2 separate regions of the Homo sapiens genome follow, and region 2 is linked to region 1. Evidence: promoter capture Hi-C in 16 types of primary human blood cells and fetal thymus (Javierre and others, 2016). All regions are on one chromosome and are shown on one strand. The core of a region is centred on a gene start or on the middle of the fragment in contact, and the rest is flanking DNA. Distances in the headings are between cores, read along the strand shown.

Evidence for each region. Contacts are between HindIII fragments. The CHiCAGO score rates a contact against its expected background, and 5 or more counts as called.
Region 2: a fragment that was not itself captured here is called in contact with the fragment with the promoter of PDZD11 in region 1 in 1 of 17 cell types (M2 macrophages); the score reaches 6.5 in M2 macrophages.

Annotation. Positions count from the first base shown.
Region 1 is chrX:70,286,396-70,294,004 of GRCh38, reverse strand. PDZD11 (PDZ domain containing 11) reads left to right here and starts at 4,078. Exons shown (of 7, transcript NM_016484.5): 1 at 4,078-4,145; 2 at 4,651-4,750; 3 at 5,492-5,575; 4 at 5,832-5,888; 5 at 6,175-6,273; 6 at 6,669-6,729; 7 at 6,889-7,410. The coding sequence starts at 4,664. The coding sequence ends at 6,923. KIF4A (kinesin family member 4A) reads right to left here and starts at 3,901. Exons shown (of 31, transcript NM_012310.5): 1 at 3,855-3,901; 2 at 3,427-3,567; 3 at 3,200-3,314. The coding sequence starts at 3,546. RefSeq lists a silencer at 3,921-4,100. The HindIII fragment of the contact is 6,290 bases long and covers 2,882-7,609 here.
Region 2 is chrX:70,667,535-70,674,852 of GRCh38, reverse strand. It overlaps TEX11 (testis expressed 11), which reads left to right. Exons shown (of 30, transcript NM_031276.3): 16 at 4,339-4,476. Among named protein-coding and RNA genes, the nearest start is that of SNORD3E, 180 kb to the left of the region's middle. The HindIII fragment of the contact is 1,436 bases long and covers 3,544-4,979 here.

The sequences.
Region 1 (7,609 bases), core at 2,829-5,328:
TTAAAAAATTAAAGTTTATAAAGTAAAAAACGTATAATAAGCGAAGGTTAATTTATGATTGAAGAAAGACACAAAGTTTAATAAATTTAGTGTAAGCTAAGTATCCAGTGTTTATAAAGTCTACAGTAGTATACAATAATGTTTTAGGCCCTTACATTCACTCACCACTCATCACTGACTCACTCAGAGCAACTTCCAGTCCTGCAAGCTCCATTCACGGTAATTGCCCTATACGGGTGTATCAGTTTTTACCTTTCATACTGTATTTTTACCTCACCTTTTCTATACTTAGATCACAAATATTTTCCATGATGTTACAACCGCCTACAGTATTCAGTACAGTAACATGCTTTGCAGGTTTGTAGCCTAGGAGCAGTAGGCTCAGGTGTATAGGAGGCTATACTATCTAGGTTTGTATACATGCACTCCACCATGTTCATACAATGACAAAACCGCCTAATAATGCACTTCTCAGAAGGTATCCCTGTCGTTAACTGATGCATAATTATAACTTGCTACTTAATTGTACAGTAGTAGCTTCTAAAACTATAAGCATGGCACCTAAAAGGAACTACAAATGCAAATTTACTTCAAGGTGAAAAAAATAATGACCTTAGGGAAGTCTGTTCCTTATTAGTGTGGCAGACATGTTGTCAAGGAACACAAAGCAAGCTTTCTCTGTTAAATGATCATCATATTTATGTCAAAGCTGTTATCTGCTATTTACCAAGATAATTTTGCAGTCTGAAGGAAAAAACCCTTTAAACTTTGAAACAACGTTTTAATCTAAATGAAAACTTTGAAGTTTTGAAAAAACTTGTTGGTCTAAATGAAGGATCATAAGAAGATGCTAAATTGAGATTTTCACTGTAATAGACCGCTGGTATCAGCTGGCATGACTATGGGGCAAGAGAATAACATTCCATAATTTTCTGCAATACCACAGATATGTGCAGATAGCAATAACTTGGGAAATGAGGTTTTAGTAGTTTTTACAAAATACTTAGGGCTCTGTGGTACCAGGAGTTCAGAGTACAAGAGGGTGCTGTTGAGCTGACTATAAAAAATATTGACTTTGTTTTTGCAACCAAGGGTAATGTTAAGCAAACACATGTATATTGGAATCACTTTCTACTTTATGTTGCCTTTAAAGAACATAATTTAATTCTATCAGTTTCCCAAGTTAAGAATGTAAAAGTAGAACTGTGGTGCTCTTACTAAGCTGTGGAGGTATAGCCTGAGGAATCTGACCAGATAGTGCAGGGTCTGAAAAGCATATTGTTTCAGGAATGGCTAAAGGAAAGGCGGGGATAATTGAAGAGAATTAGGTAGAAACACTTAACGGTTTTCCAAATACTGTATGTAAAAAGGAAAAAGATTATAGTGGAGAAGCCCAGCAGATTAACACCTTAATCAAATGATCAAAATGAACATCAGTAGTAATAGAATAAATCAAAATCATGTGCTGCCCAATAGGCTTCAGTGAGAAGAAAACAGCACCACTTCTGTGATATTCCTGCTAAAAGATACACAACCTGAATCTAATCATAAGTAAATGCCAGACAAAACAATATTGAGAAAAGGTTTACAAAATAACTGGCCTGTAATCTTCAAAGTGTCAAACTCATAAAAGTCAAAAAAAGACTAAAGAACTGTTTTAGAATGGAGACTAAAGAGACAGCAAAACTAAATAAAACGTGATTTTGAACTAGATCTTTTTGCCATAAAATATTTACTGGGACAATTGGTGAAACTTGAATGGGGTTTCAGGAATAGATGGTAGTAATGTAGCAGTGCAAATTTTATTGTTTTGATGGTTGTATTGTGGTAACTTAGAAGAAAGTCCTTTTTTGTAGGAAATATACACTAAAGTATGGGGGGTTATCAGGCCAATGATTCATCTCAAATGGTTCAGGGAAAAAATGTTTTTTATGCTGTTCTTGCAACATTCTATACGTTTGAAATTATTGCATTAATATCTTAAAATTTTGAAACAAAAATTTCAGTGTTCCTTGAGCCATATCATTAAACAAAAAAACGTGAAAAAATATGTGAATAGCTGTTGCCTAGAAGAAGGCTTCTAAAGGAATGAACTAACATCACTGGGTAGAAATTACCAGGAAGCAAATTTCATCTCATTATAAAGATCTTTATAACATAATTAGACTTGTCCAAAACCCAAATCTCAACTGGACTACCTGTGAGTCAGTGAGTTCCCTGTCAAAAAAATTTTAGACACTGGCAGTTCACCTAACAGATATTGTTAGAACGCATTTTTCTTTGGATGAAAAACAAACTAGATGATATACAAATGTCTCTTTCAACTTTAAGGCACTAGCATGCCATGATTCTACTTCTTTTAAACGAACCTCTGTTTTGAATCTTGAATAACCACTGTATTAGAATAATAATTAGACATCTCTCAGGCACTGCTCCCTTCTTTAGAACCCTGCTATGGTCCTCAACAGCATTAAAGACTTAGCTTCCCCAGTAAAGATTATTAACTGGTGATAGTATTCAGAGGCTTTAGGCACTCCCCTTCTCCACCTAAAAGAAGTATACTCATTATTCAAGACCCATCTCAAAGTTTTCCCACTCTGTGAAATTCACCCCAAATTCCCCAAGCAGAGTTAGAGCCATCCTTTTGTTTTTCATACCACTTTGTATGAGAGCAGAGCTACTACTTCCATAGGACTGACTCTGTTGTATATTTTTAACTTGAAAAATTTTTCTTCTAAAAGATAGGTACAAAAAATTTAAAAATTTTTATATATTCAAAATTATTTATGTAGTCATCTATCTCCATTCCTATCCCCTGGACTTTGAACTCCTTCAGGGCCTCGAAGCTATATTATTTATCACCTGAATCCCTCAACAAGCTTTGCAGTGCCTGGGCCTCAAGTAGGTTGGCACACTTATCACCATCAGCAACCACCACAGAGTTTATAATCTAATGAAGTTCCAGGATAAACAAACATATACAAGTCAAAGATGAACAGAACCACATAAAGCAAATACAGAATAAAACTAGCTTCAAGGGTACAGAGACGTTGACAAATGTTATTAGGCTAAGGGCTTCTTGAAGGCAGGAATCATGATTCATCGATTCCTGTATTTGCAGTGCCCAAGCACAGTGCTTGGCACATAGTATATGCTCAAGGAATATATATGTTACGTTCGAGGAATCAAATCGCCTTACCTTTAAATACACCTTTTATGAGTGGCGCTACTGCTGTATTGAAGACTTCTTCCTGTTCAGTAGAGGGATCAAATACAAAATCGTAGGTGAAGGATTTATCTGTACCAACCACCACCTAGAGAAGGCACGGGACAAGGCGTAAGGTTAAAAATGAAAGGCAAGACCACACCCCTCGTTACCATTTGGCCCCAGCTGTTCAGACACAGGCTCTGGACTCTGCTACGCACCTGAGGCTCTCCGGGCACGAAGGAAAGGCACATCTGGCAGCCCTCGCTAATCTCTTTGGGGACCAGAGGGCGACAACGCAGCGCCACTCTTACGGGAATTCCCTTCACCTCTTCCTTCATGATCCTATCTCAGCACCGTCTCTGCGAGGGGGAAAAAGAAGGCTCGCTGATGAATGTTAGTAGGTCAGCAGGGGTGGGAGGGCGTCCTCCCCGGTTCCGACCCTCCTCAGCGGGAACACTGACTTGGGAGATTCACGCTCCATGACTTGGCCAGGGCTGGACCGCCCGTCAGCCCTGCACTCTAAAGAGAGTGCACGGGCTTCTGAAAGGCAAAGAAAAAACTCCAACGGGGACGGCGACAAAGAACCAAAGCCCTAGGGTACTGGGTAAAAACAGGTTCTGAGCTAAGGTGTGCCCCCGTAACTCACCAAACTAAATGTCCCTTCCCCGTTCTCCCTGGGCCTCCCGCCGCCCTGTCCCAGCCGGAGCTTTAACCGCCAAGTTTCAAATCCGTCCCGGAGACGCCAACCAATTGCAGTGCGGACTGCCCGAGGGCGGAGCGCGCACGTCGGCGCGCGCAGGCCGGCGCGGTGGGAAGGGGAGGGTCAGCTCGTTGCACCCTGGCCCGGCCTCTTTTCGACCCTGCGGAGCATCCGCTTCCGGTTCCCAGACTGAATTGTCAGTGAGCGGAGTCTGAGGTCGCTGTGGACTGCCCACTGGTGAGGTGGTGCGGCGTTTATGCGGCTGAGAGTGCGGGTCTCAGGCAGAATGTGGGGCGGGGACGTGGGAGGTGGCTGGTCAGGTGAAGGAAGGGTCGATCTAAGGACCCTACCATTACTAATCACATCTAGGAAATGTGGGGCGGTGCCTTGCCCCGAGTCCCTGCGGATAGTTAACACTCCCTTGGGCTTCGAAAGTAGATCTTTTTAGACTCGACCCTGATTTCCTCTTCTCCAGGTTTGAGACGGTAACATCTGTTTTGCAGGATTGTGAAAAATGAGGTCCTCTTTCTAGAGTACCTGACAGGTTGCTTGGCATCCAGAAGATGTTTAGCTAAGTTAAGAGTTTTCTTCTGTCTTCCTTCTCTCCTCCAACCTTAACACCTAGATATGGGCTGGGCCTGTAGACTGACTGCCTTGGAATGGGTTGGAGCTGCTGTCTGAAACTTGCTGGGCTGCTCTCCCTTTTGAACCACTTTTTGTCTGTTCTGATTCACTCTTCCAGGGCCTTGCCCGAGATGGACAGCCGGATTCCTTATGATGACTACCCGGTGGTTTTCTTGCCTGCCTATGAGAATCCTCCAGCATGGATTCCTCCTCATGAGGTGGGAACCATCTGTATTCCTGAGTAGGAGATTTTTTTCCCCGTGGGCATGAGATGATGCATGAAAGGTAGGATAGCAGGGTTAGAAGGCGAAACGGAGAGTGAATCTTAGCACTTGTAGCCAGAGGACCCAGAAGCTGGATTCTGAGCAACAGGACCCATTGGGAACTTCTTTATGGAAGCCTCCTGCTAGGGTCTGTTCACACCGGTTAATTCTGGAAATTTGGAGCCTTCATTTCCATACTGTTAAGAGGTTCAGCGCGGTGGCTCATGCCTGTAATCCCAGCACTTTGGGAGGCCGAAACAGGCGGATCACCTGAGGTTGGGAGTTCGAGACCAGCCTGACCAACATGGAGAAACCGCGTCTCTACTAAAAATACAAAATTAGCCGGGCGTGGTGGCACATGCCTGTAATCCCAGCTACTAGGGAGGCTGAGGCGGGAGAATTGCTTGAACCTGGGAGGCAGAGGTTGCGGTGAGCTGAGATTGAGCCATTGCACTCCAGCCTGGGCAACAAGAGCAAAACTCCATCTCAAAAAAAAAAAAAAAAGGTGAAGAAATGGGGAGCTACTGGGCTGCCCCAGTGCTATCCATCTACTCATTTAGTCTGTGTTATCTGTTCTACTTAAATTAAGTCTATGACCTTTCCTTTTCCTGACTTCAGGGTAATTCATTAGTGTTTCAGATGAAGGTAGGTGTGAAGTAAGACTGGTAAAATTTCTGGGGTTGCTGTGTCTTGCAGAGGGTACACCACCCGGACTACAACAATGAGTTGACCCAGTTTCTGCCCCGAACCATCACACTGAAGAAGCCTCCTGGAGCTCAGGTGAACTTATGAAACCTTATTTCAGGCTAGATTCATCCATACCACAAATTGGCAGTGTTGGGGGGATGGATTGGAAAGCAGGTGCAGATGTGAGGAAACTTTCCTTCTTGTGGACAGAAAAGCTGAGATAACACTTCTGCAACTTCTGACTTTCCTCTCAGGGACACACAAGCTGAGCTATTGTACGATGATGCTACTAGTTGTTCTTGTGTTTGTGGTCTCCATTGAGCCCCCATTCTGTGCTCTTGTCTTACAGTTGGGATTTAACATCCGAGGAGGAAAGGCCTCCCAGCTAGGCATCTTCATCTCCAAGGTATTTATGCCCAGTAGGCAATATGGATCGTTACTTCCCTTTGTTAAATTAACAGATTGCAGAACCCTAATGTCCCAAGGGCTGAGAGGATGACTCTGGATTCATAGAAGGGGTATAATGGAGACACCCCCTTTCCCACTTAAAACTTTTCATTTGGCAGGCCATCTGTCTGCATACATTGTCACAGAAAAACAATAGCACCATACATTTGAATAGCACCGAATTTCACTGACAGTCTTCTGAAATTATCGCATCCCAATCACATGTATTCTCTCTTTACCAACAGGTGATTCCTGACTCTGATGCACATAGAGCAGGACTGCAGGAAGGGGACCAAGTTCTAGCTGTGAATGATGTGGATTTCCAAGATATTGAGCACAGCAAGGTGAGCACAGTACTTGGGCTGTGGTGCTGCAAGAAGCCATCTCAAATAGGACAGATTGGACAGGAGTAGCCTAATCTGTAACTTAATAAGAAAGCATTTTGCTGGGCACTGTGGTACACGCCTGTAATCCCAGCTACTTAGGAGGCTGAGGCGGGAGGATCACTTGAGCCCAGGAATTTAAGACCAGCCCAGGCAACGCAGCAAGACCCTGTCTCAAAACAAACAAACAAACAAACAAAAAGAGAGAGAGAAAGTAAGCACCTCTCCTGGGAAAGTACAGGAGGGAAGCAGCTATTAGTGACACACAGGTTGGAGTGGCAAATCCCTTTCCCCCTATTATGATTCTGTCTTGGGTCATATCTCTTCATTTGTACAAGCTGCTGTGTTCCTTCCAGGCTGTTGAGATCCTGAAGACAGCTCGTGAAATCAGCATGCGTGTGCGCTTCTTTCCCTACAGTAAGTGCCACTTTCTTTTTTCACTTTCCTGACAGGGCCCTAAGTAAGAACTCTTTAAATACTGATGACTAGAGGCCCTACAAGTTGGGGATAGGGAATCAGGAGCTCAAGCGTGAAGATAACCTGCTCTGTTCCTCCTTTTCTTCTTCTTTCCTTCAGATTATCATCGCCAAAAAGAGAGGACTGTGCACTAGAAAGTTGCAGCCCACAGCCCTTCATGTGGACTCTGTCATGACATGCTAACTAGACTTCAGGGGAGCCACTTCTGTTTTCAGCCCCTCCCTGGAATAGTGAGTTGGGAGGATGGGGAGACAGCTAACCAACTGCATTACCCAAACCATATTGCACTTTTAGTTCCCTAGTTTTCTAGGTGAGCTTCATTCCCTGAAAGGAGGATGATGATATCTAGGCATAACCTAGCCTGTGAGGAACCTAGTTAGGAAAGACAACTGACATTTATTGAATATCATGCACTAGTCCCTTACATATGTCATATTTTAATTATAGAAATCAGTAGCAAAAAGAATCTTGGGGATTTTCCATCTGACTTCCCTGGCCATCTTATCCCATCCTTGCACTACCAGAAGATTCATACACTTTTGAGACTCCAGTGAGACGCTGTTTTCACCCCTTCCTCCTCCTAGCCTCTCTCCCAAAAAGTAAAACACAATGCTGAAGAAATATTGGTGTGACTTTTGAATGTTACCGATTGGATGTAAAATGCTATCGAGGGAAGAAAAAGCTCTTCCAAAGAGAGGAGCCACTGGAAGGAACAGAGCAATACTATACCTTCCTCGCAACTACCTGTGATGTCTGACCAGAACATTAGCAAGGCCAAGGAACTTTAACCACAGTATAACTAAGAAATGGCATAGAGTGA
Region 2 (7,318 bases), core at 3,012-5,511, 380 kb before region 1:
AGACAAATAGCAAGATGATAGATTTACATCTAAGCATATGAAAAAAAAATCACATTAAGTGAAAATGACCTCAAGACCCCAGTGAAAAGGCAGAGATTGTCAAACTGGATAAAAGAGCAAGACCCAAGTTTATGTACTGCTTAAAAGAAATGTACTTTAAACATAAAGATACAAATTGGTTATAAACAAAAGCATCAGAAAAATATAGAGAGACAAGATTGTTCTAAAATTTATATATAAAACAATGGAATGAAAATAGCCAAGATACATTATTAAAAAGTCAAAAAATAATAGATGCTGGCAAGGTTGTAGAGAAAAAGGAACACTTATATACTGTTGGTGGGAGTGTAAATTAGTTCAACCACTGTGGAAAGCAGTATGGCTATTTCTGAAAGAACTAAAAGCAGAATACCATTTGGCCCAGCAATCCCATTACTGGATATATACCCAGAGGAATAAAAATCATTCTATCATAAAGACACATACATGCAAATGTTCATTGCAGCACTATTCACAATAGGAAAGACATGGACTCAACCTAAATGCCCATCAATGACAGACTGAATAAAGAAAATGTGGTACATATACACCATAGAATATTATGCAGCCATAAAAAAGAAAAGATCATGTCTTTTGCGGGAACATTGATGGAGCTGGAAGCTATCGTCCTGAGAAAACTAACACAGGATCAGAAAGCCAAATAATGCATGTTTTCACTTATAAGTGGGAGTTAAATGATAAGAACTTATGAACACAAAGAAGGAAACAACAGACACTGGTGTCTACTTGAGGGTGGAGGATGAGAGAAGGGAGAGGAGCAGAAAAGATAACTATTGGGTACTAGGCTTAATATCTGGGTGATGCAATAATATGTACAACAAACCCCTGTGACATGTGTTTACCTATGTAACAAACCTTCACCTGTACCCCTAAACCTAAAATAAAAATTATAAAAAGAAAATAGCCAAAACAACCTGAGAGAGAATAGAACAGAAAGAATTACCCTATTCAATTTCAACACTTTTTATATAGCTACAGTAATCTAGACTGTGTGGTATCATTAGAGACATAGATCCATAGATCAATGGAACAGAATGGAAAACCAAAAAATAATCCCACACAAATATGCTCAACTGATTTTTGAGAAAGCACAAAAGTAATTCAATGGAAAAAGATGGTGTTTTCAACTAATGGTGCTGGAGAAATTGGACATCCATAGAAAAAAAAAAACCCTTGACCTTAACTTCACATTTTATACAAAAATTAAATAGATTATAAAATTAGATGTAAAATGTGCAATAAAAATACATAGGAGAAAATCTTCAGGATCTAGGCCAGGTCATGTGCAGCCTATTCCCTGCATGAACTGCACTTGATATGTGACTAAAGACAAGGATGTTAAGAAGTTTATCATTCAAAATATGGTAGAAAGCCAAGTGTGGTGGCTCCTGCCTGTAATCCCAGTGCTTTGAGAGGCTGAGGCGGGAGGATTGCTCGAGCCTAGGAGTTTGGGACCAACCAGCCTGGGCAATATAAAGGAGCACCATCTATACAAAAATAAAAAATTTAGCCTGGTGTGGTAGCATGCACCTGTAGTCCCAGCTACTCAGGAGGCTGAAGCAGAAGGATCCTTTGAGCCCAGGAGTTTAAGGCTGCAGTGAGCTGTGATCATGCCACTTCACTCCAGCCTGGGTCACAGAGCAAGATCCTGTCTCAAAAGCTAAAAACAAAGAAAACAACAAAACATAGTAGAGGCCACAGCTATCAGGGACATAGCTGAAGCCAGTGTCTTTGATGTCTATGTGCTTCCCAAGCTGTTTGTGAAGCTACATTACTGCATGAGTTGCACCATTCACAGCAAGGTAGTCCAGAATCAATCTCGTGAAGCCGGTAAGGACCAAACACCCCAACCCTGATTTAGACCTGTGGGTGCTGCCCACCAACCTCCACCAAAGCCTACATATGGAGCTGAGTCCTTAAGGACTGAAAAAAAAGCTATCCTCTGAAGAAAATAAAGTGAAAATTATACTTTAAAAAAAAGAGATCCTGTTGAATAGATGAAAAAAGCTAGAGACTGGGAGAAAAATTTTCAGACCATGTATACAATAATGGGCTAGTAGCTAAAACATAGAAAGAACTCTCTAAACTCAATGTACAAAGAAAAACAATTCAAAAATTAGCAAAGGATATGAACAGACATTTCACCAAAAAGGGATATATGCATGAAAATAAGCACCCAAAAAAGATGACTTATGAGTCATTAGGGAAATGCAAACGAAAACCCCAAGGAGATACCAATACATAATTCTTAGAATAGCCAAAATGGAAAAGATTAACCATACCAAATGCTGACGAAGATGTTGAGGAACTGGAACTTCATGGTGGAAATATAAGATAGTACAGACGGTTTGGAAAATAGTTTGGCAGTTTTCTAAAATGTTAAACTTGCCCCTATCATGTGATCCAGCCATTTCAATCCTATGTATGTACTCAAGAGAAAAGGAATTATTTATCCATACAAAAACTTGCATGTAAAAGCTGATAGCAGCTTTATTTATAATAGTTAAAAACTGGAAACAGCCAAATGTCCATCAACAAGTGAGTGGATAAACAAACTGGTATGTCCTTCAATGAAATACTACTCAGCAATGAAAAGGAATGAACTATTGATAGATGCAATAATGGGGATAAATCTAGAAACTGTTTTGCTGAGCGAAAGGGGCCAGGCAAAAAAGTATTAATACATATTAGATGATTCCATTGTATAAAAGCCTATAAAATAAAAATTAATAGTTATAGAAAGTTATAGAAAGCACATCCATAACTGCTTGGGGTATGAGAGACCAGAATGAACTGGATTGAGGGATTACAAAGAAAAAATGGTTGTGATGGATGTGTTCACTCCGTTGACTGTGTTGATGGTTTTAGCTATGTGTGTGTGTATATATATATATATATATATATATATATATCAAAACAATTGTACAGTTTAAATATTCATAGTGTTTCATATGTCAATTGTACCTCAATAAAACTGTTTTCCAAAAAATGTTATGGTAGGTTTTGTAGGAGAAAGATGTGAAGAGAAAAAAGGGAACAAAATCTGAGAAACAAAGAATTAGACCCAAGAGAAGGAAAGAGAATCCCTTATAGGAGCATGTAGAAACCTAGGTCTTATGGTTAGGTACCACAAGATAGAATGATATTCGTATTCTCTTTTAGAAGGCCTTTATTTATTTTTTTACTGAATAGGTGAAGAACTACTTCAGAATTCCCATTCTTCTATTGATTCTTTTTCTTTCCTCTCATTTTCCAGTCTTGCTGAATAATTTTCTTAAAACATCCACTTCCAACACTGGAGAGGAATGTAATCTTATTTCTAATTGACTATTTCTAATATGACATATTTCTAATCTACTATGACTAATGTAATAGTCAAAGGCAGTGTTTTACCTATTTAGCATAATTGTTTCTAGTTGAAGAGGGTGTTTTATTCCTTGAAGGTCCTAATGGCTCCTATTCTTAATTGAAAAATATGAAGCTTCTTGATAGGGTACAAGGGAATCATTTACCTTACCTTGGTTTATAAGCAGTCTCAGTTTTCTTAGATTAAGAAATAATTATCCAGGTTATTCCTATCAGATTTTCCCTAGCTAGCTTCTTACCATTGAAAATTTTAAATTTACTCAAGAGAAAAATGTATTTTTATATACAAATACAGCAGCATCAATTACAATAGTAAAAACCCTGCAAATTCACTAAATAGCTAACATTAAGAAAATCATTATATACTTGATTAAATGTTATGTATCTCCTAAAATTGATTACTGTGAAGACTACATAGCAACATAGATTAATATGTACAAAACAAAATTAAATGGAAAGAATAGAACATGAAATTCTATATAAGCTACGATTACAACTAGGTAAATATACAAAAGAATACAGTTAAAATTGAACATAGATAAATGAAAATAGCTGCATTAGCATGGTGAATTATGGGTGTTCTCTTTTAAAATTTTTGTCGTTGTTGTTTTAATAACTTTTAAAATAGATTTTAAGTTTTCTGGGGTGGTTTACTACACTCTTAGACTCTTCATCCTATGTGTGAAATTTCTAATGTGTAGGAAAAAGAAAGAATACTGATTGCCACCTTATCTAAAACTTATGTTGACCAAGACTGATAATAAAATGCACTTAGAACCCTATATAAAGGATATTGTGTTTTGATTGCCTAAAAAAGAAACCAACAGCATCTTTTATTTGTTTCTAGAGGTGACTTGGGAAAGATAGGGTAGCGACATCGCTGTGATTTTGTTGTTTCTTTTTAAACTTTAGGTACAAAATTACACTGATGCCCTACAATGGTACTATTATTCTCTGAGGTTTTATTCAACTGATGAAATGGATCTGGACTTCACCAAGCTGCAGAGGAACATGGCTTGCTGTTACCTGAATTTGCAACAACTTGATAAGGTCCTTTGATTTATCTATTTTCAGAGGTAGCAAATGTTCTTATGTGCAGTGGCAGAGAGATAGATGCCATGCTGTGACTTCCTGGCTGTTAGTTTAGGATGTCTGAGAGTTCCCTCATATAGAACAAGGTCAAATTGACATTTTCTTGATTTGCACACTGTAAACATAGAGTGAAACTTCCCAAAGAAAGAGAGAATTTGGAATACCATTAATTCTATTACTTACCCTTTATTTTTCACACCTATTCTGAAAGGTAATATATCATTGGAACTCCTGAACAAAGTTATCTGCTACTAACCATCTGTAATATTGTCCTTTGCAGCAAGCTAAATTTTGAAGTACACACTTTTGTCAAGCATTCATTGAGACCAAATACTTGAATGAAGTGGCCATTCTTTCACTTTCTAGGTTGTTATCTCTTGCCTTTCCAACCACCCTAGAAAATGTTCTTTAACTGATTTCTTATCAGGACAAAATTCTAGAAGGTAAAGAAGATAAAAGCTTGTTTAAAGATAGAACGGAAATACTTTCCAAAGCAATTAGGACATTTCTTCCTTTGGTTATCATATGGTATGCACGTAATGAGGGGTATTGGCTCTTAGAAGGACAAAGAACTAGAAGGACAAGTGTGAACCCAAATGAAATATGAAGGTTTTTGTTGCCTTTCAAGTTTTAATGACAGGTCTAACCTTTGTTCACCTAGGTGATTAAGGGTAATGATTCCAGATGTTTTCTTTGAAGGTTTATTTTTGAAGAGTTGTTTATCTGACTTAAATACTTTAGATTTTCTTTCAAGAAAATATTTGCTATTTAGTTTATATGTTATAAAGTCACAGCCCTGGAAGAGAACTTGAAATGTTACTTAATTCATCATAATGTTGTACAGGCTAGCATTTAACTGTTTCAGAAAATAGTTACCTACAGTTTAAGATCTAAAAGGAAGATGATCATGTAGATTTTGTTACCTAATTCTGCACAGGACAGCACTATTTCAGAAAGGTAGTTGCCTACTGTTTACTTAAAGACTAATAAAGAAGGCAATCACAGAGCCTTTATAACTTCCATGATTTATGACACAGTGAGCTAGGCAGCTTGGGAAGGACCTATATCTGGATGTAGACATGCTAGTTGGGGAATGGATGCATTTGCAGGCCAAGGGAGGATATCTAATCAGCCAGTCAGGAAAGAAAGAAAGAACACAGTACCAGACATTATGCTAGGCTCTGAGGTTACAGAGATGAACAAAGTATAGTTGCCTTCAACTCACTCAAGCAGCTGACATCATGGTATCCTAATGGGCAGATAAGCAGAGCATGGCAATGAGAGAAATCTAAATGTTGGAAATAGTCCGTAAGTCAGGCACACAGGTGGTTGGCATCACATAAACATAACAGCAGGGAACAGGGTTTCAATCACAGATATTTGGACTCTGAGACAGTACACAAATCTTTGAGGAATAGGAGTGTGTGCAGACATACTAGAAAGAGCAAAGTAGATCTCCACAACTAAAGGGGCCAGGATATGAGGCTGTTTTTAAGAGCAGATCCCCTGCATAGGGAGCCAAACTGGGAAGCAATGACCAGAAGAGGAATACAAGTTGACTAGATACAGTTTTCTGAGACTTAAGCAATGCTACTTACATCTCTTCTAATGTCAAGTTTGGTCCTAGAGCCTAGTATAGCACTGACTTTATAATTGGAAATTCAAATGGTATTAATAGTGAGGTTAGGAAGAATAGGAGAACAGTAAACCAGGTGTATTTTAATGGTGCGTACTCAATATGTAACTGTATCATTTATGGCCAGATTAGTGGTGAAACCAAAGGATATTTTGAATATATTCAAGGTAACTTTGTTGGTTACTGTTAGTATATTTCTCCATTTCATCCTTGTCTTGAATTTAGCAGACATTGATTGGATACCCTCCATATACAATGAATATCCTCTTATGCACTAGGACAGACAGAAAGGTGAAAAAAATACACAATCCATCATATTTTAATAATCCCACCTCGCCAGTGTCTAACCTTTGTTAGCTTTCATTGTCTTTCTTCACTCCTTCCTTTGAGTTGCTTGAGCATTGTTGGGAAAATTTATGAAACCATGTTTATTGGGTTTGCTAAAATTTCATGGTTTTTCAGCTAGGTAGTCAATAATACTGACTCTTGTTGAGTTTTTATCACATTCCCCACAGTGATAATTCCAAAACATTTTTTTTCTGTCCTTAAGCACCCATGCTTTCTCCTTTGTTGTAGCAAAAGATCTTATCGTGTGATTTGCTGAGCTTGTAGCCACTGACATGAACTTCATCAATTTCTCACCTCTTCACCCATCCTTTCTTTTCTCTTACCTACGAGAAAGAAGTAACTTTGTCTGGGGACCTTACTCTACAGATCTCAACCCTAGCTGTTTAATCATTCTCTACTGTTTCTTTTTTATTTTTTTTTTTTGAGACAGAGTCTCACTCTTGTTGCCCAGGCTGGAGTGCAATGGTGCTATCTCAGCTCACTGCAACCTCCGCCTCCTGAGCTCAAGCAATTCTCCTGTCTCAGCCTCCTGAGTAGCTGGGATTACAGGCATGGGCCACCACGCCTGGGTAATTTTTTATATTTTTAGTAGAGACAGGGTTTCACCTTTTTGGCCAGGCTGGTCTCGAACTCCTGACCTCATGATCTGCCCGCCTCGGCCTCCCAAAGTGCTGGGATTACAGGCGTGAGCCACCGCGCCCGGCCTACTGTTTCTTTCTCCTGTCACTATAATTACCTTGAAGTCTTCTTTATCCAAAAACCTTCCTTCAACTTTGTAATCCTCCTCAAACTTCAGTTCTGTGTCCTTCTTTTTGT